2 separate regions of the Homo sapiens genome follow, and region 1 is linked to region 2. Evidence: promoter capture Hi-C in 16 types of primary human blood cells and fetal thymus (Javierre and others, 2016). All regions are on one chromosome and are shown on one strand. Each heading gives the region's core, a stretch centred on a gene start or on the middle of the fragment in contact. The rest is flanking DNA. Distances are from core to core; before and after follow the strand shown.

Region 1 (4,221 bases), core at 43-2,542, 84 kb after region 2:
GAAGTATTATAAATTTGTATTTTGTTGTCTGTTTGTTACATAGTCTGTACTGTAGGTTCATACAGGCAGCCAGCTTCAGGGTGCCAGCAGGCCATAGGAGTTAGAACTGACTACACTGCTCTTTTCTAGAGTATACTGGTTAAGAGCATAGACCTGAAGCCATGTTGTCTGGGTTTAATCCCACCTTGGCACTCACCAGCTACATGATCTTGTCAAATTGCTTAGCCTCTTTGTGCCTCCATTTCCTCTCAAATCATAGATTAACAGATTACTGACAGGCTGAATTCAAATCTATTAAGTAAAATAATGTGTAAAGTGGGGATGGTAATCATGATATCTACCTCAAAGGTTGTTATGAGGGTTAAAGGAGTCGGGATTTGTAAAGTGTTCAGAATACAATTTAAAAATATATTTCTCAGTACTCCTGTTATATTAAAATAGGAAGGCAAATAGGAGGCTCATTAAGCCATTCAAATGATTACTACATGAGTCAGGCAACTGTGCTGGACATCAGTCTTACCATCTAAAGTCACTCTAAAGCTCTACTGTCATTTACTTTCAACATTTTAGGATAACAGCATCATATGTTCTATAAAATTTACAGTTACTGTCTTTGTTCTTGCAACTATTGATTGTTACTAAGTCTTAAGTACCAGGCTAAGTCTATTACATATAGAATATTATTTAAACCTCACAACATATCTTCAAAGATGCCAACTTAGATGGTACCTAGAGGTGAATTAGCCATCACTGTCCCACCTCTGAGTCTCCTTAAAACAAGGACTGCTCTCTTAATCCCCACTCTAGTTTCTTGTCAAGACTAACTAGGGCAGTTTTCCAGTTGGTGCCTCTGGAAATATTGGACATCCTGATTTTTCAGCTGTCTGGAATTGATGGAAAATGTAGTTTCAAGCCAGGGAAGATAATAGAGCGTAGGGGTTAGAAGCAGAAGCTTTGCAATCGGACAGATCTGAGTTGGAGTCCTGACTCTACTCTTTACTAGCTATGTGACCTTGAGAAAGTTCTTTAACATGTAGTCAGCCAACCTTTCATTCATTCCAAAAATATTTACAAGCATCTGTGCAATTCCAGGCTCTGTTCTAGGCTCTGGGGAGACAGCTGGTAATGAAAGAGACTGCAGTCTCTGCTCACATGAGCTTTACATTCAGTGGTTTTATGACTTCTTTATAGGATTGTGGGGAGCTTAATTGGGATAACATAGGTAAAATGCTTAGTGTAGTGCCACTGGAACATATTTGAAAAGGAATAATGTCAGGGAAAATGCAGACACCTTCCTGAATTTTATATTGTTTTCAGACATCTTTTGCCTGACAATAGTGTAGAGGAGTTGCCTTCCAGAATAGCAGTGATTTTTGGAATAACTGATCTGAGGATTGTTCTTCCTTGGCCTCTTTTCAAAGGTGACCAAAAGATGGAAACATACCTAGGATCTTTTATTATAGCAATTTAAAAATATTTATGATAGCTTGTAGAATAATTTGAGAGTAAATTTCATATACGCCTCAACCAAGGAGCCAGCATTACTGGTCATTTAATTGTCCATCCTTCATTGTTTATCTCAATTCTTCAGAAAAATATTCTAGACAAGACTGAAGGTCAGCATTTCATCTTTAAGCTTATTCTAAACCTAAATATTATTGCCCTAAATCTGACTGTACATATAAGAGTAATAAAGGTATTAAGTGGATAAAGAAGATTAATATGGAATGAACCTCTCTATAATTCAAAACAGAAACTACCAATATCTGTAAATTCATACTCTATCTTCCTTCCTTTCACAGTGTACAGACATTACCTTTATCCTATAAAAAATCAGCCCCTCAGATCTTATTCCACTTCTTATCTGCATTATATCCATTTCCTTGGTCATTTGTTTCTCCCCACTAGACTATAAGCTTCTTAAGGGCAGGTGCCATGTTTCACATCTTTATGTATTTTGTTCATATCCTAATGCCTGGCATAGAGTTGGTTTTCGATGTGTGTTTATTGAATTGACTTGAAATGACATAGATTTCCTCTCAAATAATAGACTAATAGATTATTGGCAGGCTAAAATCAAATTCTTCTAACTCTTTCATCTGTTGATTTTATAAAGATTTCTAAAAACATCAAAATGATGGTAAATTTATTTTAAAACACTTTGAATGAAATTTAGCTAAATCAATCCAAAGGCTTAAGTTTAGATAGCCTCACAAAGATGTCATCTCAAACAATGAATTTATCATAGATTCCAGTGAAGAAACATTATTACAAAATCAGAAGTAGTACCTGCCTAATAATGTATATAATTCCACATTAAACGGTTTAAAATGTGCTCTTATTAACTACCACCTCTTTTTTTAGCTTATTTATTTAAACAACTTGACATAAGTATTATTAGATAATCTGATTGCACATTCTCTGGTTATAACAAACAGGAGGACAGACATTATCTTTTATTTGAGTACATATTTTTATAATTTTCAATTGGATGTGAATATATAAAGAGGCTTTAAAAGCTGCTGAAACTTTTGGTTATTTCAGGAAGATTAGTGGAGAATTAATAAGAAAGGAAAAGTTAAAATTTAATCTGGAAAACTTGGGGGCAGGTGTATGCGCTAAAGAATTGGGGGATAAGGGTCACTCAACAAATATTTATTGAGCACTTACTATGTGCGAGCCACTATCCGAGTCTTTTAGATACAGAGAACCCTGCTCTTGCAGAGCTGACATTTAAGTTGGGAGAACATTCATTCAAAGAGATTCTAGTAATAATGACTTTCAAAAGGAACCATTGGATCTCCATTTCTTAGCTTCCTGGAGCTTCTTCGCCCTGTTGAAATGTGAACAGTCCCTTTCTACCTATAAACCCCACAGATTCAGAGAAATTAAAAAGGAAAAGCATGGTCTAGCACAAAACAGGTGCTGTTATAACCTTCCCGGGGTGCAGAGCACCTACTTGTCTTGAGAGGCTACTCAAGTAACTTCCCTGAACAGAAAAATGTTTCAAGGCAATTCTCTCTGTCTATACTAGAATTGACTGGCAACATCCCTGATACAATAAATAATAATATATAGAAGAAAATAAATGCTTCTGTTTCCACAGGCATCTCTATAACATATCTGTCTCAAAAAGATCACAGCAAAAAATAAAGGAGATAATGTAAAGTGTCTAGCATGGTGCCTGGCAAGAGGTTAGCACTAAACACTTAAACATGCACGCACACACAGTCTTCCTCAGCTGCAATGAGAAATATACGGGCCCTGCCTCTGACAGAGAATGTAAATCAGGCTCCTAATTATTCAGCAGAGGCAGTGGGCTCCACCTCCTGCACATCTGGTGTGTGTAAAGCATGTGAATCCCTCTTTAATCAGCAACTCAGAATAATGGCATTTCCAACCCTCATCAGAGAATTCAACCAGGAATTGATTGTGATGAAGCTCTTGCCAAATGCTTGCTGGGACAGTTGATATTTGAGAGAAACTGCCTAATGAATTTGTTATCTGTATGCATTATTTTTCTAGGCTTTTTATTTGAATTAAGAAATCATGAGGAAAACTTACCTGGACTATATTATTGCTAATCTGTATAAAATACTTTGTTGAATTGACATGTGCTGCTTCTTTACATACTTTTTAGCCAATCTGTATTAAAAATATCTGCCTAGCATGGGGCCTGGTCCATGGTAGGTTCTTAATAAGTGTTTGAATATTGAAGGAATGAATCTGCTTGAATAGATTCATGGTTTTTCTTCCTTCGATACAGCCATAAGTGAAAATAACAACCATTAGAATTTGCTTTTTATTCCTTCTCCTTCTGGGGAACTGCTCTTCATCCTTCATGTCTTAGCTGGATATCACCTTCTTTTTGGTCCACCCCTCTGACCCTACCCCACTTTACTTTCTTCTTCAGGCAGGGTTCTAAGTTCTTCCCACCCTGCTCCCACCTCTGGCTTTGCACCTATCACATGTTTTTATAATTGTTTGCACTTATGTCTCCTTGTTGGACAGGGCAGCACTTCAGGGCATGACTGTGTCTTTTTCATTTTTGTAACTGCAGTGTATGGCACAAGGCCTGGCCCAGAGTAGATTAATAAATGTTTAAATGTTTATACACCAACTGAACATTTCTTCCTCGAATTCAGCAACAGGAAAAAGTGATATTTTCAATGAATTTTTATTTAGTTTCTGCTTTATGCAAAACACTTTCCTGATATTATA
Region 2 (4,306 bases), core at 1,354-3,853:
GTTTCTAGACTTTGATAGTTGTTGGGGCTGGGACATATGCACAGAACTTCACAGGAATCTGTTAGTCTAATGCTTTAGAAATGCTTAGCAAGCCCGAAAGAATTAAACTAATTAGTCAGATCAGGACATCTTGGGCATTTCCCTTTATTCAAAGTTGTAGAGACACTTAAAATTCCGGGAAAGGGGATTCAAATAGGAATTTAAGTCAAAAACCAAATAACTCATGGTGGGTTTACAAGTCATTATTCTAGTTAGACTCTTCATCCACATATCTACAGGGTAGGCAACCGAAATACATATTCAATAAATAACGTTGAAAGGTCCATCAAACCGAAGCATCATTTACTACGAATTGATGTGCTTAGGAAAGAAACAACTGCCTTTAAAATTCTGAGGTTAAACAGTTACTCTAACTGTTCTTTAGTTTCATTTCCTCCCAGGATGTACTGCTCTTTTTTAAATAGGGCGTGTACTAGAAATGAAGTTTAACGTAAGTCTGTTGTTTACAATGTTAAGAGAGAGAGGGTAAGAGGGAAAAGGAGAGCTGAGAGAATGCAGCCCACTTGCAAAACAGGCACCTGTTTCAGTATGAAGCAGCAGGGAGAGGGAGAATGAAGTGTGCTTTCCACTTCTTCAGGTCCTTTCCTTGATGAATGGTCTGGAAATGTATAAAACAAGGGCATAGGCAGACCAAGGGGGCACGTTCCACACAATACTGAGCACAGCATGTCACTTGTATCACATATTAAACATCGGTGAATATCTTTTTGATGTTGACACAAGAGTTGGGATTATTGTTCGTGGTGCAGGTGGCAGTGGAATTGCCCGTTTTGAAAGGGGTCTGGGGGAAAGCGCTATGGTTCATACCCCCCTCTTCGATCACCATATACTCCGACTTACTCAGAGTCGAGTTACTCCTTGCTTTTCGGAGCTCCTCGGCTGAAGAGGAGAGGTGCTGGCAACTTCCCACGTGCATGTACTGGGATTGCTCTTCCCCTTCTGTCTCCCGGTGGTAGAAGTAATTGAAGTTGGAAACAATCACGGGAACTGGCAATGCGATGGTCAAGACACCGGCGATGGCACAGAGAGATCCCACAATCTTGCCCCCTATGGTCACTGGGTGCATATCGCCGTAACCCACTGTTGTCATGGTTACCACTGCCCACCAGAAGGCATCCGGGATGCTGCTGAAACCTGAAGTGGGGTCGTCTGCCTCGGCAAAGTAGACCGCGCTGGAGAAAAGGATGACCCCAATAAAGAGGAAGAAGATGAGCAATCCCAGCTCCCGCATGGACGCCTTCAGCGTTTGCCCGAGGATCTGCAGCCCCTTGGAGTGGCGCGACAGCTTGAAGATGCGGAAGACCCTTACCAGGCGGATGACCCTCAGGATGGCCAGAGACATGGCCTGCTGTCCATTGCCCTGTCGTTCGGCCAGCTCGGTACCCAGAGTGATAAAATAAGGAATGATGGCCACAATGTCGATCAGGTTCATGATGTTTCGCGAGAAGGTGGCTTTGCTAGGACAAGCGAAGAACCGCACCAGCAGTTCGAAGGAGAACCAGATGATGCACAGCGTCTCCACCACGAAGAAGGGATCGGAGAAGCTGGAGGCTCCTGCGCGGGACCCCGACGTGCTGTTGCCGGCTGCTTCGAATGAGTCCTGCGACGTCGAGGCGGGGTAGTCCTTCTCGTCGCGGAACTCCGGCAGCGTCTCCAGGCAGAAGATGACAATGGAGATGAGGATGACCAGCACGGACACGATGGCGATGCCCCGGGCCGGCCCGGAGCTCTCGGGGTACTCGAAGAGCAGCCACACCTGGCGCTGGAAGTCGCGGCGGGGCAAGGGCCGCTCCTCCTCCCGCAGGAAGCCCTCGTCCTCGCGGAACTTCTCCATGGCCTCCTCGCCCAGCTGGTAGAAGCGGATCTCCTCGGAGAAAATGTCGATGGGCACGTTGACCGGCCGGCGGATGCGGCCCCCGGACTGATAGTAGTAGAGGATGGCGTCGAAGCTGGGCCGGTTGCGGTCGAAGAAGTACTCGTTGCGGAGCGGGTCGAAGTACCTCATGCGCCGCTTGGGGTCGCCCAGCAGCGTCTCGGGGAACTGGCAAAGGGTCTTCAGCTGCGTCTCGAAGCGCAGCCCGGAGATGTTGATGACCACGCGCTCCCCGCAGCAGTCCTGCTCGCCCGCGGCCGGCAGTGAGGGCGGCAGCGGCTCGTAGCGGTCGCAGCCGCCGCCGCCACAGCCGCCTTGAGGCGGGGCCCCTCCACCATCGGCCACCTCCGGCTCCAGCAGGTGGTCCCCGGGCACCACGGTCATGTCGGGCGGCAGCTCGCGGCCTGCGGCGGGCTCCGCGTAGCCGTGGTTCACCAGCGTGTGGGCACCGCCGCTGCTCGCTGGGCGCTGAGGAGGGTGGGCGCGGTGGCGGGCTGAGGGCGGCGGCGGCGAGCGCAGAAGGCTGAGGCGCTCGTCCATGCGGCGGGGAAGAGGCGGCAGCGGTGAGGCCAGGTCGCTCCTCCTCGCGCTCCCCGCCCTTTCGCCGCCTCCGCCCCCGAGCCGAGCCCACCGCCTGTTGCAGCCAAAGCCGCGATGCTCTGTCTGGGTCTGGCGCGGTCAGCCGGGCTCCCGCACGGGGACGCCTCCTCCCTCCTTCTCGCGCTCTCCGCCCCCTCCCCTGCGGGGCGCGCGCCCGCCTCCGCGTCCCCTTAGGATTCCCGCCCACCGCGCGGGCGCGCGTCCCGCTCTCGGGGGCAGCCGCCGGGCCTGCATTTCTTGCAGCCCTCAAGGCCCCTCGGTGTCAGCGAAAGAGCCCTCATGTTGTACCTCGGCGCCCCGCGGGAATGCCCACCCAGCAGAGCCGGCCCACGGGGAGTCAGGCTGCCGGCCCGGGCCCCTAGGCTCCGCCCGCTTCTGGTCAGCGCCCCTCGCCCCCGGCCCGCCTGGCCGCGTCCCAGTCGCCAGGGTTTTCGGCCCGTGGGCCGGGAGAGCTCCCGCCGCGGCCCCGCGGGCGCCGGCCCCCTGGCCTCCACACCCCTAGGTACAGCCCGGGGAGGGCAGGCGGGCCCAGTGTCCAGGGAGGGAGTGCAGGCCAGGCGGGCGCCCTGGGCCAGAGGCAAGCCTGGCGCCGGCATCCCAGGTTCCCTTGAGGGTCGAGGACCGCCAAACCCTGGGGAGGAGCGGGGGTTTAAACAATTTAGCTTCTGCTAGGATGCGAAGCCAAAGGGAGTAATGGGTGCTGATGGGCTTCGCAAACGGAGTCCGAAGGAAATGGATTGTTAAAGGCGTTCGGGCCCTGCTGCTTTAGTGAATAGTTCACACCCGTTTTCGCAGCGGAGATGTCGGCCACTGGGAAGAATCAAGGACCAAGTTTCTGATTGGGATTAGCAGTGACAGCCTGGTCTTTATCCACTACACAGGTTTCCTGTTGGCGGGGAAATAAGAGGAAAAATGGGAAAGGAAATTCACGAAGTCGAAGTTGTGTGGTTAGAAAGTCCAGCTTTATGACTCAAGCCTGTCGTGGAAGGGATGAGAGCAGGACCTGTACCTAGACTTTTTACTTAATATTTTGGCACTGCCCTTGTGGTAGGGAATTTGCAGCGCTCTAGTTGTTAAACTGGAAGGACATTCATTCTGCAACTTGTACCTCTTGCTTGATCTGGGCCCAGAGATAACTTACATGTATCTTCTTTAAACTTATTTTTCCAAATTATTGTGGTTACTTTGAACACAATTTGTTTCCAGAAATTTTAGCAATCTAATATAACTCAACCCTAGGCTTTAAAAAGTCTGTTTTTTATTGTATCATTCAAATCATTTACAGAAGAGGAACTATTGTCTAGACAGCTCCTCACCCACCCAAAGTTAGCTGACAATTCAATTTTAAGTAAGTGATTTGTGGTCAATACTTCCCACCACCACTCCCAACCATGGGGTTCTCTAGGGCACAGAGTAGGTCCTAGCCAACTTATATTTCTAGCAACTACCAAAGTGCCTTGTAAATGGTGGAGACTTGGTACATACTTGTCAGATTGAATTCCCCAAGGAGTGTCTCTTTGCGTTGCTATCTGCTCTGGAGTTTCAACATTTCTTCTTTTTGAGCCCAAGATGCTGCTGTGATTCCTAGGATGAGGAGTGAGGAAAAACTGAGCTCACCATAGAAAACACTGCTCATTTATTCCATAGGATTTCCACCTCCGGCTCTCCTGGGCACAACAGGCACCCATGTCCTTTTATTGTCCCTTCATCTTCCGTTTCACCTCCTGGTCAGTGCCAGACAATGCAGGCAGTCACTTATGTTGTGGAATGGCA

The links. The method cuts DNA at HindIII sites, captures the fragments that hold promoters and counts their contacts. A CHiCAGO score of 5 or more calls a contact.
Region 1: a fragment that was not itself captured here is called in contact with the fragment with the promoter of KCNA3 in region 2 in 1 of 17 cell types (megakaryocytes); the score reaches 6.1 in megakaryocytes.

The regions. Positions count from the first base shown.
Region 1 is chr1:110,757,220-110,761,440 of GRCh38, forward strand. All of the region lies in intron 1 of LOC124904296 (a long non-coding RNA gene), which reads right to left. Among named protein-coding and RNA genes, the nearest start is that of KCNA3, 84 kb to the left of the region's middle. The HindIII fragment of the contact is 684 bases long and covers 951-1,634 here.
Region 2 is chr1:110,672,337-110,676,642 of GRCh38, forward strand. KCNA3 (potassium voltage-gated channel subfamily A member 3) reads right to left here and starts at 2,604. Exons shown (of 1, transcript NM_002232.5): 1 at 129-2,604. The coding sequence starts at 2,473. The coding sequence ends at 746. RefSeq lists silencers at 2,340-2,439, 2,550-2,599, 2,670-2,729. The HindIII fragment of the contact is 4,711 bases long and covers 1-4,306 here.